3 separate regions of the Homo sapiens genome follow, and regions 1 and 2 are each linked to region 3. Evidence: promoter capture Hi-C in 16 types of primary human blood cells and fetal thymus (Javierre and others, 2016). All regions are on one chromosome and are shown on one strand. Each heading gives the region's core, a stretch centred on a gene start or on the middle of the fragment in contact. The rest is flanking DNA. Distances are from core to core; before and after follow the strand shown.

What was found. Contacts are between HindIII fragments. The CHiCAGO score rates a contact against its expected background, and 5 or more counts as called.
Region 1: a contact is called between a fragment that was not itself captured here and the fragment with the promoter of PLEKHG6 in region 3, in 1 of 17 cell types (activated CD4 T cells). The highest score is 5.5, in activated CD4 T cells.
Region 2: a fragment that was not itself captured here is called in contact with the fragment with the promoter of PLEKHG6 in region 3 in 1 of 17 cell types (activated CD4 T cells); the score reaches 6.1 in activated CD4 T cells.

What each region holds. Positions count from the first base shown.
Region 1 is chr12:7,145,763-7,150,283 of GRCh38, forward strand. CLSTN3 (calsyntenin 3) reads left to right here. Exons shown (of 18, transcript NM_014718.4): 13 at 3,210-3,436; 14 at 3,761-3,931. Among named protein-coding and RNA genes, the nearest start is that of CLSTN3, 18 kb to the left of the region's middle. The HindIII fragment of the contact is 1,881 bases long and covers 749-2,629 here.
Region 2 is chr12:7,101,295-7,105,658 of GRCh38, forward strand. C1RL (complement C1r subcomponent like) reads right to left here. Exons shown (of 6, transcript NM_016546.4): 3 at 604-793. Among named protein-coding and RNA genes, the nearest start is that of C1RL-AS1, 4.8 kb to the right of the region's middle. The HindIII fragment of the contact is 1,748 bases long and covers 521-2,268 here.
Region 3 is chr12:6,307,538-6,311,931 of GRCh38, forward strand. It overlaps PLEKHG6 (pleckstrin homology and RhoGEF domain containing G6), which reads left to right and starts at 3,145. Exons shown (of 16, transcript NM_001384598.1): 1 at 3,145-3,311. RefSeq lists an enhancer at 1,959-2,679 and a silencer at 3,042-3,091. The HindIII fragment of the contact is 5,964 bases long and covers 1-4,237 here.

The sequences.
Region 1 (4,521 bases), core at 439-2,938, 840 kb after region 3:
TCCCAAACCAGCCTCTCTCCCTGAACTCTCTCTGTAATGGTGCCTCTGTCCTTGCAGTCATCCAGAGCTTGAAACCTCTGAGTCATCTTTGATTCTTCCCTGTCTTTATCCTCCACTGCCCATCAGTTGCCAGCTCACCTGGACCCTGCCTCTGTGCCGCGTGTCTGAAATCTGTCTCCTCTTTCTTTTGCTGCTGTTACTGTTCTAGCCCAGGTCTTATTACCTCTTATCTGGCCCATTGCCTCCTAACTAGCTGACCTATCTCTAGTCTTCGAATTTTATTTATCCTCTACTCTGAGGCTAGGTGAGTGATCTTAAGTTGAGTTTTCATCATCACACTTCCCTGATGAAAAAGACGTCGGTGGCTTCCTCTTGCCCACTGCATAAAAATGTCAAATGTGCTGGGTGCCGTGGCTCACACCTGTAATCCCAGCACTTTGGGAGGCCAAGGTGGGAGGATCACTTAAGGCCAGAAGTTCGAGACCAGCCTGCACAACCAACAGACCGCAAGTCTGTAGTCCCAGCTACTCAGGAGGCTGAGGTGGGAGAATCACTTGAGCCCAGGAGTTCGAGGCTGCAGTGAGTCATGATTGCACCACTGCATTCCAGCCTGGGCGACAAAGCGAGACCCTGTCTCTAAAAAATTAGAGAGAGAGAAAAAAAAAACAGATCTTATCATGGCATTTAAAGCTGCCAGCCATCTGGCTTCTGGTGGTTCCTGCCTCATGTTCCTCTACTCCCCTTAGTAAGCTTCTCGCCATCCACTCTGGGTCAGTACTACCCTCCTTCAAAGGCTAGCTCAGTTGCTACTTTCTCTGATCGTTCCTACCTTCCTTTTCCAAGCACCCTCCTCTTATCCTAGGCAGAACTAACCTCTCCCTCCTCTGAACTCTTCTGGTTGTTTGTTCCACTCATATGGCGATGACCATATTTGCCTTTCTTTTAACTTTTGTGTGCCACGTCTAATCTCTCTACCAGACCAACGGTGCCTTTGGGTCAGGCCTCCTATTCCCCTTGGGATTCCCAGACCAGCGGCACAGCACAGCATTGCTCATTGCAGGGAGGATGTCTGTTGGAGCCTGTGCCTTCAGGGTCATCTGGGATTGTTTCCCAAGGGGCTTTGCCCTAGGCCTATCTGGATGGCAGACTGTAATAGGCCCTGCTCCGTGTGGTACAGGAACTCAGCACATCCCGGGCATTGGCAACTTCAGGGGCTCTGAGCTCATCATGCCTACTGAGATGATGCCTTCTCCCTTTTTACTCCAGCATTCAAGCTGGGCATGCTCAGTAACACTAATAATTACAGTCCTCTCTGTAAAATCATTTCCGCTAGCACCAGCGTGGGGATCAGAGTCCATGCTCCTGGATCACTAACTCCACCGTGAAGTCTGCTTGTTCAAGTGGGGAAACTTCTTTACAGATACATTTCCCTGGTGCAAACCCAGGCCCCAAATGGTGCCTGTGGTTTAGTGGAAAGATCAGTGGACTTGGGCGGTGTGTGGTGGCGCACACCTGTGGTCCCAGCTCCTCAGGAGGCTGAGGCACGAGATTGCTTGAACCTGGGAGGCAGAGGTTGCAGTGAGCTGAGATGGCACTACTGCACTGCAGCCTGGGCAACAGAGAGAGACTCTGCCAAAAAAAAAAAAAAAAAAAAAAAAAAAAATCAGTGGACCTGGAAGGAGAAGAATGATTTAAGCCTAGACTCTGGTTTAAGCCTTGATTGTTTCTTTTTCTTTTTCTTTCTTTTCTTTTCTTCTTTTTTTTTTTGAGATAGGGTCTCACTCTGTCGCCCAGGCTGGAGTGCAGTGGCCTGATCTCATCAGCTCACTGCAACCTCTGCCTCCTGGGCTCAAGTGTTCCTTCCACCTCAGCCTCCTGAGTAGCTGGGACTACAAGCATCTACCACCACACCTGGATAATTTTTGTATTTTTTGTAGAGACGGGGTTTCACTATGTTGCCCAGGCTGATCTCGAACTCCTAAGCTCAAGGGATCCTCCCGCCTCAGCCTCCCAAAGTGCCAGGATTTACAGGCATGAGCCATCATGCCCAGCCTGAGCTTTAGGCATTTTACAGCATAGAAATGAGGTTATAATATAATGAAATAATATGGGCCAGGTGCGGTGGCTCACGCCTGTAATCCCAGCACTTTGGGAGGCCGAGACGGACAGATCACCTGAAGTCAGGAGTTCAAGACCAGCCTGGCCAATATGAAGAAATCTCATCTCTACTAAAAATACAAAAATTAGCCGGGTGTGGTGGCATGCGCCCTATAATCCCAGCTACTTGGGAGGCTGAGACAGAGGAATCGCTTGAACCCAGGAGGCAGAGGTTGCAGTGAGCCAAGATCGCACCATTGCACCCTAGCCTGGGCAACAAGAGTGAAACTCCATCAAAAAGAAAGAAAGAAAGAAAGAAAGAAAGAAAGAAAGAAAGAAAGAAAGAAAGAAAGAAATGTGGGAAAATGCTTCATAAACTGGCAAGGGCTATTGATTGTGAGGTGTTGTTATTACTGGTAAAGGTGGGGCTAAATGTGATCCTGGGAGCATCACTGCTGAGCAGCTGTGCTGTTGGTTGGTCTGGCTCAACAGAGTCCTCTAAGGATAGCTTGTCCTGATGCCTGGATCCTCAAGCTTCATGAGACGGTGGATCTAGGTCCAAGGTGGTCAGATGATCTCACCTACCAAAGTGTGTTTCCCCGATATTGAAGGGAATGAAAGACACACCAAAGAGGAGGACATCCTTTGATAGATGTCCACATTCTACTTTTATTGTTGAATAATTTTGGGCGCATATGTGCCGGATAGTATACTGAGTCCATGTACTTTTAAACTGCTGGATAAAGAACTGTGTGTGTATATATACCTGTTTGTCAGTTCAGTTTGCTTTGTTTTTCATTAAAATAGCATCTATAGGTACTCCATAATCCTGGGGTAGGGCATTGATGGTGTGATCACACCCACAGGTTGGGATTACCTGACCTTCTGTCCTCGACATTTTCCTTGGTGACATCCTACCAGGAAAGGATATGTCCCCCTTCAACTGCTGTGGGGGTTGGGATGCAGAGGCATGACCCCCTTTCTTCCCCTGCCCCTTCCTGACATGAGATGCTCTATGATAGAGGTAGCTGGGGCGGGGAGTGAAACAGAATGTGGGTTTTCGGGGAGGAAGTGTTGGGGTCACATGCTGCTTCTCCTGCTTTCTTACATAGGTGCTTCAGCGAAGAGTCCTGCGTCTCCATCCCTGAAGTGGAGGGCTACGTGGTCGTCCTTCAGCCTGACGCCCCCCAGATCCTGCTGAGTGGCACTGCTCATTTTGCCCGCCCAGCTGTGGACTTTGAGGGAACCAACGGCGTCCCTTTGTTCCCTGATCTTCAAATCACCTGCTCCATTTCTCACCAGGTGGAGGCCAAAAAGGATGAGAGTTGGCAGGGCACAGGTAAGGACGACTTCGGGGAGTAACACCATCCAGAGAACCAGCCAGTGTCTGGAGTCAGAGTGTGGGAGAACTCCTGGGGCTGGAAGCAGAAAGCGACTCCATCCTGTGTTTGTTTGACTGAACAACTTACCTTTAAGAAGGAGAGCAAGTGGAAAACACGTGGGTGGAAATGAATTGTTGCATAATGATATTCTTGAAAATGATGCTGACTTCCCTCTCCCTGGCCCTGGAAAGGGAGGGAGAGTGGTGATGAGGGCATGGTTGGGTCTCAGAACCTCCGTGGGCCCTTTGGCTCTGACCCAGACCCTACTATCCCCAACCCAGTGACAGACACACGCATGTCGGATGAGATTGTGCACAACCTGGATGGCTGTGAAATTTCTCTGGTGGGGGATGACCTGGATCCCGAGCGGGAAAGCCTGCTCCTGGACACAACCTCTCTGCAGCAGCGGGGGCTGGAGCTCACCAACACATCTGCCTACCTCACTATTGCTGGTCAGTGGGGCCTGAGGGCCTGTCCTCTGTGTGTGTGTGCCCCTCCCAAAAAGTAAGGGCCTAGGAAGCCCAGAGGGTCCTCCTTCCAGGTCCAGGGATGTGGACAAGTGCCGTTTTGCATTTTCCTAGCCTGGAAGATCCTCTGGCTTTGATTGTCCCTAGGGAAGGTGTGCTGGGTTTAGGCTCCGAATGCTTCTGTCTTCCTGCTCCTCTCCATAGCCTGGCTCACCTCCACTTCTGGTCCCACTCCTGTTTCCATTCAGGCTTCTCACCTTCCTCTCCTCCTTCGGCTCATCTCTGCCCAGCTTTCTAACCCTCTAGCTGTCTGTTTGTTACCGGTCATCTCTGTTGTTCAGCTCACTCATCTCACGTGCACACCAGAGCTTTACAAGAAGTACTCATCTCTTAGTGAATAGTGGGAGTGATGATTTGGTAGTTTCCAAAGGAAGCCAGGAGGGAGAATGGAGAAGATGGAGATAATCAGTTCCCTTCTATTTCCACTCCTTTCCAGGGCTCACTGAGGACTTCTGTATTTTCCTCTTTCTCATATTCCCTCCTGCTTGCCATCTCCCTTTCTGTCTTTCAGGATG
Region 2 (4,364 bases), core at 145-2,644, 790 kb after region 3:
TAGTTTCTCCGTGTCTCCCAGGCTGGAGTGCGGTGGCATGATTGTGGCTGACTGCAGCCTCAAACTCCCTGGCTCAAGCAATCCTCCCCCTCAGTCCCTGAGTAGCTGGTACTACAGGTGTGCACCACCATGCCTGGCTAATTTTTAATTTTTTTTGTGGAAACGGGGTCTCACTATGTTGCCCAGGCTGGTCTCCAACTACTGGCCTCAAGCAATCTTCCAGCCTTGGCCTTCCAAAGTGCTGGGATTACAGGCATGAACCACTGCCTCCAGCCAGTATTTATCTTTCAAAAACAAATCTGAGTCATCATTTGAAAATTTATAATTTTACTTAAAAATCTGGATTTTTGGCATCTCTTTAAAAATGAGATGATCTGCAAACACTGGGCCTGTAAATCTGCATGGAAACAACCGCTGGGGGCTCAGCTACGGCTGTCTCTTAATAGGGTTGCTTGCCAGCAGGGGCAGGGCTGGGATCCAGCCCAGGTGTCCCTGAGTCCCCAGCCTCAGCTGTCACTCAAGCTTCCACTTAAGGCTTGAAGATACCAGGGTCATGGCTGGGAACAGAGGCTCCCTCCCTGCACCCCCAGGAGGGACACTCACCCACGGTTTGGTAGAGGGCCAGGAAGCCCTTGTGGAGGTGGGCAGTCTTGTTCTCCGAGGAAGGCTGTGTGCGGAAGGTCAGCCGCAAACTCCTCCCTGAGGATACAAACTCCCTCTGACCAGGGGGCCTGCCCAGAGGGGAGCCTTGCTGACCACAGAACTGGCTTGGATCCGAACCGACGAATGAGATCTGAAAGCGGGAGGAGGAGTGAGGCTGCAGATAGGTGTGGGGTGAATCCGCGCTGCTGGCATCACAGGGGCACATCCTCGGTGTGACTCCTGCCCCATCTAGACGGGCCGTGCCCCTCTGGGGCTCAGAAGGCACCTCACAGAGGCTTCCTCAACTAGCTTCTGGTTCCATTATTGACGCCTGAGTTTCTTCCAGACATAACCACATACTACAATGTTTCTTTAGCCTACCATAATTATTTCACGTAACCCACTATATTTTCCTTCTTTTAAGAAGTTCCTTGGGAACACCAGGGTTCCCATGGGAGTCACTGGATTATGCATTCTAAGAAGGCAAGGACTACTTCTGTCTTTTTCTCCACTGAGTTCCTGGTGCTCAGCGTGGTACCTACAGCACCACAGCGTTGACTCAATGAACATGGGCATAAGCCCCTCCCATCCAGCTTCTCCTCCATCCCCAAAGCCCATCCCATCACCTTCCACTTCTGTGAGTAACTTTCTTTGGCCAACATCTGTGAGGCAGTAATACCCTCTGCAGAGACTGAGCCTCTGGGGTCCCTGCCTTTTCCTGCTTTCCTTCTTTTGGGGTGCCCCTCCTCTTATCCCATGCACTTTGTAAACGAAGCTCTCACAATGTATGAAAACCTAAGGACACAGGTGTCCACAGTCCAGCTGCACTGGATGGTGTTGCTTCATCGGGCAGCTTGTCTCTGTTTCAATGCCCTTTTGACTGTCTCGCCTCTGCTCAAATACCTTCCTGTGGGTTCCTTAACTCAAGGAAGGGGCCATGCTTCCTGCTTCATCTCTGTTCCAGGCACACAGCTCACTGCTTAGCTCATTTTATTTCTGGTTTTCATACTGATCCATATATCCTAGGTTTTTGCTAGCTCTCCATTCCCTCATTCTCCACAAGTCCCAAATTCATTCAAGACTTCATCCAGACCATGTCATTATGATCAGAGTAACTGGGTAAAATTTGCGATGAAGAAAATTTCTCAATCGCCCCAAATACCTGGTTCAGACAAATCCCAATACTGGTCTTTTGCTTAGAATATCAGCAAATGTAACTCCTGGCATTTAAGAGGCCTGCTTTTTGGGGAAGAAGCAATTTGATGTAGGAAATGGTGCTCAACTGCTCTACTTGGTTGTAAAACCCTCCAGCTTTCTTTTTGCCCTTTTCCCTGAATTGTTAGCGAAATACAATTGCTTAGGATTCTAACTAGGAAAGTAGAGTGGACACAGGACTGAGTCCTAAGACCCTTAAATTCTAGACTTTGCTACTAATTCCATGTGTGAAATGGGGAGTTTCTGAAGCACCCAAGATCTCAGTTTCCTCTCCTATATAATGGTCTGTGTGGCCTCTTCCAGCATGTTCTATGGCATCTTCCAGAGTCTGCACTAAGAGCAGTGGTGAGGATGGATACTCAATACCTGCTCCTTCAAAATTCATTATGTTGTGTGTCCTGCACACACATAAGCTTGCATTTTATTCACTCTCTCACTTATTCCTTTAACACATTTACTGGTTGTGTACTATGTGTAAGATACTGTGCTAGGTGCTGGGGACACAGATGTGACAAAGGCACAGTTCTGCTCCCGAGGAGCAGTGGCTGAGGACGCTGACAAGTAAAAAAATAAACTAGGTTATAGTGTGCTGAATTCTGCCTTTGAGGGGTGTGTGTGTGTGACTTACTCTGGGAGGAATCCTTTTTCTGAACTTGAAGTTTCTCAATGACAAGAAAAAAGGCCAGGATTAAAAATCTCCATGATTTAAGAGGAACGGGACTCATGGTAGGTGCTCAACAGACATAGGCTGAATTGAACAAAGTATCATCCTGACTGGTTAAGTCTGAAGCAATAAATGCATGCATATATTTCCTCTCCCATCTCAACCCCAGTCGTATGACAGCAAAGGGATAAAATGGTACACATAACCAAGGACAAAAAAGGGAGAGAAGATGACAGCAGATGACAGGTGTCAACACACTTTGGAAGATGGAGTGGAGATGCAAGTGATAACTTGAGTTTGCAATGATGGGAGCCAACATAAAGCAAGCAGGTTCTCATCACAGAACCAGGGGAAGTTTTAAAAATTGGGGGAATCAAGATAGGGATGAGGGAAGGGCTGGCACGGGGATGGCAGACCAGAAGCCTGTGAGGGAGACTGCAGAATCCTAGAATCTCTGTGCACCCAGGCAACTCCCTCTGGCCCACCCTGGCAGAAGGCATGAGCTTAACAAGAAACCCTGGACTTGAGGCCCCGCGGCACACTTGATAGAGGGGGCGAAGGCCAGTGCAGCAGGTCCATGAATAACATCGTCGTTTCATTATGACGTTGACGAGAAAAAATATTGCCCCGTGTCCGGGGCCACTCTCTGGGTGAAGTCTGCACATTCTTCCCATGTCTTCAGTGGTTTTCTCCAGGTCCTCTGGTTTCCTCCCACATCCCAAGCTGTGCCTGCTAGGCGACCTGGTATGTCTCCACGGTCCCAGTGTGAGTGAGTATGAGTGTGTGAGTGCGTCCTGAAACAGGATGGTGTCCTGTCCAGCACTGGTTCATGCCTTGCATCCTGAACTGCTGCAACAGGCTGTGGCCACCCGTGACCCCAAACTGGAATAATTGGGTAAATAATCTTATTCGTTTTTATTAACCTTTCTTACATGTAGGCATAGTTCACATGTATTTCAATATTTAATATTAGAAGTGTTTGGGGTCTTTATTTAGAGGTTTGGTGATGTTTCTGTGATCAGTAATTGCTGTAGAAACTTCACTCTTGTCTATATCAATTAGCTCTATGGCCAAATTGGTTTCATTCTATGTTATTTCTCTTAAAGTCATACTTTCCAAGAACCTATGGATGATTTTAAGTGAGGACTCACTGTACCAAAAACAGAAGGATTAAGTGAAAGTCTACCTGCCAAACAGTGAGCTGCATCTCCCTCCACCAGGCCCTTTTCTCAGCTTGTTGACCAGAATGCTGGGGTCCCTGAGCTGGAATCTGCAGGAGTCCTCTCAGGGGAAACTGGCTGCCCCCAAATAAAATGCTTTTACATCCTGACAGTTGGGAGGCCCCCAGTGGCACATCTAGGTCACCTTGTCGATAACCCTATTTTCAAACCTATCATTTGACAAATTTTAGCTATCCACACAGAACTTCCAATCAGTATTTTAGTGCTCCACTCTTTTTTTTTTTTCCTTGAGACAGAGACTCACTCTGCACCCCACAGGCTGTAGTGCAGTGGCCTGATCTCGGCTTACTACAACCTCCACCTCCCAGGTTCAAGCGATTCTTATGCCTCAGCCTCCCAAGTAGCTGGGATTACAGGCGTACACCACCATGCCTGCCTAATTTTTGTATTTTTAGTAGAGACGGGGTTTCACCATGTTGGCCAGGCTGGTCTCAAACTCCTGGCCTCAGGTGATCTGCCTGCCTCGGCCTCCCAAAGTGCTGGGATTACAGATGTGAGCCACTGCGCCCGGCCTTAAATATGAATGGACAGCCAAGTATTATCAGATATCGTAGGAAAGTCTCTAACACAAAAAGCAGAGACCAAAACAGACAAACGGTAAA
Region 3 (4,394 bases), core at 1,895-4,394:
TTATTCTTTTCTATATTCCTACTGTCTTACACATTGCCAGTAAATGTGGAAGGAAGGGGGAGGGGACGAAAGAAGAAACGGGAAGCACCAGTTCTGGCCTGAGGCACCAGAGGCTTTGCCCTGTGGCCTGTCCTCCTGGTATTCATCTGCCTCACATGACCTGGCGCCTCCTAGCTTGAACCCTCAGTTTCTGCCTCGCTCTGGGCAGGGAGGACACAGCTCCCATTAGCTGCCTCCTGTTGCTAGTGCCTGCCAGCCCCTCATTAGCCCAGATGGTCCCCACTTCTGCCCTGAGAGATATGGGCTCAGCAGAGGTCGAGGCACAAATGAGTTTCCCTGACCTTCCTGCCTGGTGAGCCCCTTATGCCAACCCCAGGCAGTTATCCTCAGGCTGCTATTGGACAGAAGCATTTGATCCTCAGAGCTCTGACCGTGGACACACACTTTACCATCAGTTATGGGGTCAATCCAGGGGCCTAATGAGGAGCATCTTACCTGGGAGAAAGTGAGGCATATGACTCAAGCTAGACATGTGAGGAAAGGCTAGGATAACCAGGAATAAAGAGAAGTATCCAGATGGCATACTCTGGTCCAAGGACCAGATGGCCCCTAGCCTCACTTGGCAGAGGCCAAGCCTCCAGCCTCCCAATTCTTTACATTTCATTCAGCTCCCTGAGAATGCTCCCCTCAGCCTGCCATAGGAGTGTGCTCTCCGCAGCACAGAGGAGTCATGGAAGTGGAGACTGTGAGAGTGACAGAAGAGAAGAAACAGAACATGGAGGCCTGCCTCCTAGGCCACACACCTGTGCCCGGCCACACCTCTGGCTTCTAGACTCCAGCTTGCCCTGGGAACCTCTCCTCCCAGGGAGGCTGAAGACAGGCCCTGGGGCAGTAGTGGGTGGAGACTGGACCTCAACGCCTAGAGGGAAGTGAAAGGGTTAACCACCCCGCCACCCACCACCACCTGCCACTGGGCCCCTCTAGCCAGCTCACCCCAGAGCACTGTAAGCCCAGGCTTGTCTTTGGTGCTCTCTCAATTTCATCTTCCCTCTTATTCCTCCTTCCCACTCCTTCTGGGAGACACTGGGAGGAGAAGCTAGGGGCCATTGGCACCAGCTGTCTCTGGGGTGTCATTTAATACTGTCCGTAATCACCACCTCCTCTCCTGGCTTATTAACTCTTTCCCTCATGGCTACTCTTGTCATCCCTGGACATCTCTCTATCTCTGTCTAGCTCTCACCACACACACACACACACACACACACACACACACACACACACACACACACACACACAGTGAATGGGAAGAGGGAAGGGCTAGGAACTAGGCACACTCTGGTTTCTTGCCACTGCAGTTCCTTTCCCACCTGACTTCACCCCCGAAAACTAGTCCCACCACCAGCTGGGCCAGGAGCAGGAGACAGGCTGGTTCAAGGAGCTGGAGGAACAGAGGACACTTCTGAACCAGCAGAGCAATCACACAACAGCAAGCTCAGAGAAAGAGAATCCCAGAGGGCAGATTTGAGGATGGACACAGGGAATACAAAATTAGAAACTGCCCAAAGATATAGATTCCTCCTCCAAACAAAATAGAGTCACCAGAGTCCGAGTGAGGACTAGAACACTCTGATCATGTATGCGTTTCATAGCCTAGATGGGAAAAGGGAATAGAGGCCTTTTCCCCTGGCAACTCAAGGAGATTCTGCTTCTGAAAGTGTTTCCTGAACTTCAGGATGCTCTGAAGAAGTAAGGAGCCGTATCAATCACTGTTGAGTTCATTGGCAGGAAATAGACCACAGTCAGGGTGAGGGGCTGGGAGCCTCAGACCTGCCACCTGCCAACTACAGGGTCTTGGGTTTCATGGTTGTGAGATTATAATGACCACACATCCACAGGACACTTCTATCTCAAATATCCAGTGCTTCTGTCAGACGAGGTGCCATGATTTGGAGAAGTGAAAAGGTGGGGAAACCGAAGCAGGAGGATCGCTTGAACCCAGGAGTTGGAGTCCATCCTGGGCCACACAGCAAGATATTGTCTCTATTTTCTTTTTAAAAAATAAATTTTAAAAATAAAGAAAATAAAGTATGGTCCTTTCATGCAATGCCCAGCATGTGTCAGTCCTTCCACAGCATCTTTTTCTTTTTCTTTCTTTTTTTTTTTTTTTTTTTTTGAGATGGAGTTTCACTCTGTTGCCCAGGCTGGAGTGCAGTAGTGCTGTCTTGGCTCACTGCAACCTCCACCTCCCAGGTTCAAGCGATTCTCCCGCCTCAGCCTCCCAAGTAGCTGGGACTACAGGCGCCCGTCACCATGCCCAGCTAATTTTTGTATTTTTAGTAGAGTCGGGGTTTCACCATATTGGCCAGGCTGGTCTCCATCTCCCGACCTTGTGATCCGCCCGCCTCGGCCTCCCAAAGTGTTGGGATTACAGGCGTGAGCCATCGCGCCTGGCCCCACAGCATCTATTTTAGCAGCCACCGCAAGGGCTGGGTGACCCTGGTGTAGCCGGGAGTGGGCTTATTTGCAGGTGAACTGGGAGGGTGCCCCCACCTGAGTCTTAGGTCATAGGAGAAGTGCGGGTCAGGCCTCAGCTGCCTATCCCTGGAGCAAAGGCAAAGTCCAGGATAGCCTTCCAGTATCACCTTCCACCAGGCAGGCCAGCCGGTCCTCTGAGAGATAAGGCTCACACTTTGGACTCCACACAGCGACGGGGCCCCCTGCCCCTCCAGCTGGCAGGCGGGCTCCCTGCCTGCTTAGGGGTCTAGGCCGAGGCAGGGGGAGGACCGGACGGCCGGCCACTCGCCGCGACCAGCAGGAGAGAGGGGTGCCTGCCACAGGTTGTCACCCTCGCCGCCTCCCCCGGCGGCGCCCCGCCCCTTACTCAGCCCTCATTACTGCAGCGCCTCGCGGGGGTCTGGCCCGGAGTGGAGGGCGCGCGGTCCCAGCCCTCCCGCTCGGCCGGCGGGTGTCGAGTTCAGGTGCGACCGAAAAGGGGAAAGGAGGGCACCGCCACGTGAGCTGTCCTCTCCGGGGAAGGCGGTGGCTGCGTGAGGGCGGGGGCTGCTCGGTCCCCAGGGCCCCGCCCCTCTGCCCCTCTGCCCCGAGCGGTGCTGGCGGTAGGGAGGGGCCAGCCCGGTCCCCGCCCTCCTCGCCCGGACCCGCGCTGCCCGGCTCCCGCGGGCCGCTCGATCCCAGTCCCAGGCTGGGCATCGGGGCTGGCTGGCATCGCCGGGGAGCCGACGGCGACGGGGAGCCCCGCGGGCGGGGAGGGCGGCGCAGGGCAGCGGGTGCGGTGACACCTGTGGGCACAGGTGAGCGGCGGGAGGGCTACGCGGCCCGGGGGCGGGGCGGCCGGGACCCGGGGCCTGGAAGCCGGGGCGAAGGGGAAGGAAGGCCTGGCCTCCCGAAGGCGGGAGGAGGGGAGCCGGGGGCTGGGCTGAGACAGGACCCTGGGTAGGGAGCAGTGCGAGGGAGACAGCGCCCTCAGAGGGAGGACTATTGGGAGGCGGCAGGAGGGACAGCGAACGTTTCCTCCTCTGCTCCTGAATCGGAGGAAGGTAAGGGAGGGCTGAGGCAGGACCTCAGGCCCACCCGGTCGGGGCACAAACACCTGCGCAGCCTTCTTGAGCCCACCGCCCCTTAGGAGGCCTCTCCTCTTCCAGGCCCTGCCCACTCGAGGGCGGGCCCTCCCTCCAGGTTTAGGGGGGAGGGATGGAGCCCCACGCCTGGCCCCCAGCTCCATGGTGGTATTCCCAGAGTCTGGGGAGGACCAAATATATAGCCCGAAACTGGAGAAACTCTAATTCTATTTGGCTGGTCTCTAAGGGCAGTGGCCGGACAGCTGGCCCCACTCACCTCCCTGTCTGTGGTCAGGAGGGTTCAGGTAGGAGATGGGCAAGCCTTTCAGTAAAGGCCAGACAGTAAAGATTAGAGACTTCGCGGCCTACACCGTCTGTCCCAACTAGCAAGAAGCAGTCACAGGTTATTAGGAGACCAGCAGAAGAGGATGGATTCCAACAAAACTGTGTTTATGGACACTGAATTTGAATATCATGTAATATTTACTTGTCCCAAAATATTGGTGGCTTTTTTGCAGGGGGGGCAGCAGTTGTTTCAACTATGTAAATATGTAAAGGCTTACAGGCTGTACAAAAACTGGTGGCAGACTGGGCTGTCTCCAGCCACCCCCACTCCCAGCCCACCCCACCCACCATGGCCTCCCTCCAGCTTTTTCCCAAGCTTTATATGGGGAAGGGGATGGGGTTATATCTAGGTGCAAGGAGAACCCTCCCACCTGGGTGTATCCAGAAAGCCCGAGACCTGTCTGTGACCCTTGTTCCCATTTGAGACCAGTGCAGGAGCTTGTACCCCAAATATGCACACATGTGAGAGAG